Linked DNA regions of Homo sapiens: region 1 is linked to region 2. Evidence: promoter capture Hi-C in human tissues and cell types (Jung and others, 2019). All regions are on one chromosome and are shown on one strand. The core of a region is centred on a gene start or on the middle of the fragment in contact, and the rest is flanking DNA. Distances in the headings are between cores, read along the strand shown. Region 1 has its middle 13 kb from the start of SCGB1D2. Region 2 holds the start of SCGB1D4 (secretoglobin family 1D member 4).

Region 1 (2,816 bases), core at 256-2,755, 70 kb before region 2:
CTAATTCCTGGCTTTCTAGATGAATCAGAGGGCCCCTGAAAACATCTTGAAAAGAGGTAAACAGGATTATTTGATGTGTTTAGGTACATGGGCCAAAATGATGTTCAATCTTCTTTAGGTTATATTTTTGTGAATAATACTAATATATATTCCTAAATTGTATGGGATTTCTAAAATTCTAATGTCTAAGTATATGCTATCAATTATAATTATGGTTATTATGTTAAGTTATTGTAAACCACAAAAATAATGAAATTTTCTTGCCAGTGTTATGTGCCTAATTTGGATAAACAACTGGTATCCAAGAGGATATAAGTCTAATGTTAACTAAACATGGACTCATGGAGAAACAGGATGGCCATCTTGTCCTTCCTGAGTCCTTAAAGCTTTTATTATTAAAACTTCTGCATTCCATGACTCATCGTGGAAAAGATATAATGATCCCAATTGAATACATTGGTAAAGTGGCTTACAAATTACTAAAATAATTTATAACCGATGCTTGATCCCATATTCCTGGGAAAACAATTAAAGCTTCAGGTACATTTGGTCGCCTGGTGGGCAACTTAAACATTTTATAAAGGGATTTCATCCCATTTTAATTTTCAGTGCATGTTTTCTGGTTGTATAAAAGCTTTCCCATGCAAGAGGGATGATGTTATAACAGTAGATTATTATGCTACAGTGTATTTTCACCAGGTAAAGAAAGCTTTTTATGGTTTGAATCTCCTGGAAACGTCAGAAAAAGACTATCCTTGCCATCCACACTACAACAAAATTTTGGGGCCTTGGGATTCGGGTTCATGGTCTCACAACTGAGAAGGGGTCCCTCCCCGCTTTTGGAACTGTGCATTCATTGGAACCCTTGAGGAAAAGCTAACCACGGAAACTTCTCCCAAGAAGAAGATGACATCCTTGATGTGAACAGCTTTTCCCAAGTTCACAGATCGAGACTTCTACTATCATGAAACTCTTATCTTTGAATTTTTTTTCTTGCTTATGCCTCTATGAACAATAGAAATGGAAAAGGGGTCTGTTATGCACCCTTATGGGGTATACTCTTATTTGTGAAGGAGTTTGCAGCCAGCCTTATACCTGGGTAATCTTATACTTTGATAGATAAAAGGTGAACGGCCAAGGTAGGTAAGAAACTTTAATGGTACACACGTTGCCTCACAATCATCAAAAACAAAACCTTGGTTCACTCCTCTTAACCCATATCATGGGTTGAAAGAGAACATTGCCAGGAGGCCTTCACACTTCCAGAAGGGTATCATTTGTTTGGTCCTTTTTATGTGGTTTAAAGTAAAAGAGACAATGATTAGAAATGTATCCCTCATGATAGGTTCCATAGCAAACTTTACTGTATAGGCCACACTTACACAACAGACTTTAAATTCTCTTCTGAAAGTTATGCTAAATAATAGAATTAGCTAACCAGAAAAGTACCTGTGCAGCTGCTGGCAATTTTGGCCTATGGGGAATTACATCAAATGAAGATTAGAGAAATTCAGTGGTAGGGGATTGATGAAGAAATTGCTTAGTCAAGAGAGTAAACTTTATCTAGCTCATTATTTGATCTATTTAATTTGAAGTGGTTTGGTTTATGGAGACCTTGGGTGAGGAGCATACTGCAAACTCTTGGTATTATCCTCCCAGTAGTCTCTCTGGTGCACTGTATTCTCTCAAAGGTTTTAAATACTTTTACTCAGCCATCTCTAGAATGTCATATGGTCTCCCTTCAACTGGAATAACAGGGGCTAAAAGAAATGTGCGACCATGAGGACCCTGTAACCTATAAATGATGTGCTGAGACCAGAAACCCAAAATAATGGTAACTGAGAGTGGCGTTAAGCCCCTAAGTTTGTGTCACACTCTCACCTAAGTGAGAACTTGTCCATAAAGGGGGAATTTTAAAAACAAAATTCTAGGGCGGTCATTGTTTTGGACTAAGGTCATGCACTAGGCCCCAACAAACCAAACCAAACCAAAATGGAGTTGCTTGTGCTAAGACTTTAAGGAAACACATAGATTCTAGAACAGACCAGGTTTTGTTTTTTCTCTTGCAAATCTCTATAATGAAAATTTCTAAGAGCGGAGGTATCTGCCCCCTGAAGTTCCCATTAAATCTTTTAACCAAATTCATTTCCTCTTGCCTAGAGACCTTCAAGCTTCAGATAATCATGCAACAAAGGTTCCAGCCAATTCCAGGTGAAGACACCGCCCCAATGCCATCAAGAAGCTACTCCACCTCCACTAGACAGAACAGGGTGAGAGTTCCATGATCCCCAAGTCAACATGAAGCAGTTACAGAAAAAAGACCATCAGTCCCTCTGCCTCCCATAAAGACTTATGGAGATCACATCCCTCACGGGGGAGATGATGCAGAAAAATAGGTTCTGGAGGCAGAGAACATAAGGCCAATTCACACTTCAGCTATGAGAGGAAATATCCTCTCCATAGGGCGTAGGCCAACTCAATGACTTTGTCATTTTACTTCATCCTCTCCATTTACATAGGGCTTACCCCAAGTAACCAATGGAATCCTCTAGCAGGTATTTAAACTCCCAAAAATTCTGTAGTGGGGCCTTTGAGCCCCTATGCTCGGGCCCACTCCCACGCTGTGGAACATACTTTCATTTTCAGTAAATCCCTTCATTCCTTGCTTGCTTTATTTGTGCGTTTTGTCCAATTCTTCATTCAAGATGCCAAGAACCTGGACACCCTCCACCATTAACAATGCCTGTAATACCAGCACTTTGGGAGGCTGAGGTGAGTGGATCGTGTGAGCCCAGGAGTTCCAGACCAGCCTGGAC
Region 2 (2,877 bases), core at 193-2,692:
AACAGCTGGGCAGACAAGAGCATGGGCTGCAGCACAAAAATAAAAATATTGTTGATGTTAGGAAAGTCGATTTTTCTCTCATGGCTCCCTGAGGTTACACCAGACAGGATCCCCTGGGTTCTATGTTTCTATACCATTATTGTGCTGATGACAATACCAGAAACTCCAGGTGTGACTTTCTCCGGGTCACACAACAAAGGGAAGAGCTTCATATCCTCAGCTAGACTTCTTTTTCTTTTTTTTGAGATAGGTTCACCCAGACTGGAATGCAGTGGCACAATCTCGGCTCACTGCAGCCTGAATGTCTTGGGCTCAAGCGATCCTCCCTCAGCCCCCAAAGTAGCTGAGACTACCAGTGCCTGCCACCATGCCCGCTTTTGTGTGTGTGTGTGTGTGTGTGTGTGTGTGTGTGTGTTTTGTTTTGTTTTTTTTTTTTGTAGAGATGGGGTTTCGCCATGTTGCCCAGGCTGGTGCTGAACTCCTGAGCTCAAGTGATCTGCCCACTGTGGCCTCCCAAAGTGCTAAGATTACAGGAATGAGACACCATGCCTGGCCCACAGCTTGACTCTTGACAACCATAACCTTACTTCATTCTCATAGCCACTCCTGGCAGAAGCTTTAACCACCAGTGATAAGAGGAGGCTCAAGGAGGGTGAGCATTGTGCCCAAGATCAAGGGGTGGGAAGTGTCGAAGCCCAGGTTCACCCCAGACCTCACATTACATCATCTGACACAGATCCCATTCAGAAGTGAAGCTCAGGCAGAAGAATTCCTAACATTTGCCTGAACTGATTTTTCTATAAAACTTCTTAGATACTGGGGATTAGAAGAAATAGCTCTAAGCAGCCAGGCGCAGTAGCTCATGCCTGTTATCCCAGCACTTTAGGAGGCCGAGGCGGGCAGATCATCTGAGGTCGGGAGTTCGAGACCAGCCTGACCAACATGGAGAAACCCCATCTCTACTAAAAATACAAAATTAGCCAGCTGTGGTGGCCCATGCCTGTAATCCCAGCTGCTCAGGAAGGCTGAGGCAGGAGAATCACTTGAACCCCGGAGGCAGAGGTTGCAGTGAGCCAAGATCATGCCACTGCACTCCAGCCTGGGCAACAAGAGCAAAACTTCTCAAAAAAAAAAAAAAAAAAAGGAAGAAGAAAGAAGAAATAGCTCTAACCTTTATGAATCTTATTCAACAAGCACAGAAAAGGGTTTGGAATTTTGTTTGGTTTTGTGCAGACCCCAACCCAAAGCACAAATAGGTGATCTTGTGCTCAGAAGAGGGTGCATCCCAGGGGCTGGTGCTGGACTCATGACTGATGTACTCACCCTGGTAGCAGCAAAGGGCCAGCGAGACCATCAGGAGACACACTGACAGCCTCATGGTGGCTTATTCGGCTGTGAGCTCAGCTTTCACAATGAGTGATTTGGATTCGACTCCAGGAGCCTGTGTAGTCATGGAGGCCAGGGCTATTTGTACCTAGGGAGCCTGGCTGGTCCTACCTACCGGGGCACCTGGTAGGTCATGAGGCCTGGCTCCCAGCCCGCCCTTCCAAGCCAGGGCTGCTGCCGTCCATCAATGTCACCTCCTTAGGAATCTCTGCATCTGAGTGGGGCGGAGCACAAGACAGCAGCCTTGTGAGAACTCTGCTCTGTGCTCCAGGTGAGTGTTCAGGTACATCTGGAAATGTTCCTGGGATCCTCAATTTCCTTATGAGCTTTTGCTGATTAGTTCTTTTTATCTTTGTAGCAGTGCAGGGGCACAGGTGAATTATGGCTTCACAAGGCACAGGAAGCTGGAAGGCTGTGTTCTCTTTATGGGAGAGCAGGGACATAAGGAGACCCTGCTTTGATCCCCCTGCATGTCTGACAACAAGCAGGCTTGTTTCAGTTGCACATTGGGAAAGTCTAATCCTTCCCCTCAGCCCCTTCCATCACCACCATGTTCACTGCATAGGTACTGAAAACATAGTTGAATACATCCCACCTGTAGAAGATATGCTGAGGAAAAACATCTGCTGCACCTGTTCTCTAGCCTGCCTCACTCCCAAACCTGAATCTTGTTTATACGTGCAGTTATATATATGGCCAAGATTCACATTTTCTATCTATAAAAAGCAAGCTTTCTGTGATGTGTAGCCACCCACGTCTTATCTTAGGGCTGATCTGAAGATTAAATAACCTAACTCTTTTTCTCAAGAGCTTTTGGAGTGTTCAGAGCCAATCATACATCAGTGGGGCTCTAGGCTGGGAAGATAATAGAAGGGAAGAGACAGAGGAACAGGGTGGGTGGTCACTTCCCCCTAACCCCTAGGCTCAAGTTTTCCACTTCAAACCTATCTGTGCTGCCTGGGCCAATCCCATTTTTAAGGGAAAGTGAAGGAAGCCCCCAGACAAAGCAATACACACCCGCCTTCCCTCCCATTGCCGTGCCTTCATGTGGTGTGAGTTTAATCACCAGAAATTTTTCTCTTAAATAAACTTACATTTGAGAGGAGTCACAGCCCAGGCCATAGCTTTCCATTCTCAGCTATGTAGTCAAATCACTTGGAGCTTTTAAAACATACTGACCCCACAGGCTTCTCTCTCTGGCGATTTTGATTCAGTAGCATTGGGGTGAATCCCTCCTTTCTGTACTGTTTAAACTGCTCTGGTGTTTCTCACAGACAGCAGGGCTGAGATCCAGCCAGGAAAACCTTTAAGAAGGAAGGGGACCTTACGGGTTTTGTCATCAAAGACACATTGACAGATTTAGTTGAGTCCAAGCTGAGGGCAACAGTGGATCTCACTTTCATCACACAGGATGACGACGGAGTCCCTGAATCAGCCCTGCTGCCACCAAGGAGGGGGAGGGTTGGTGGTGAGGTTTACAGCTATGAGGGT

Evidence for each region. Contacts are between HindIII fragments. The study calls those that stand out against the background at their distance.
Region 1: a contact is called between a fragment that was not itself captured here and the fragment with the promoter of SCGB1D4 in region 2, in 4 of the 25 tissues and cell types used here (H1 embryonic stem cells, heart right ventricle, mesenchymal stem cells and 1 more).

What each region holds. Positions count from the first base shown.
Region 1 is chr11:62,227,577-62,230,392 of GRCh38, forward strand. No RefSeq gene overlaps it. Among named protein-coding and RNA genes, the nearest start is that of SCGB1D2, 13 kb to the right of the region's middle. The HindIII fragment of the contact is 5,846 bases long and covers 1-2,816 here.
Region 2 is chr11:62,297,633-62,300,509 of GRCh38, forward strand. SCGB1D4 (secretoglobin family 1D member 4) reads right to left here and starts at 1,443. Exons shown (of 3, transcript NM_206998.2): 1 at 1,324-1,443; 2 at 1-26. The coding sequence starts at 1,378. The HindIII fragment of the contact is 5,452 bases long and covers 1-2,877 here.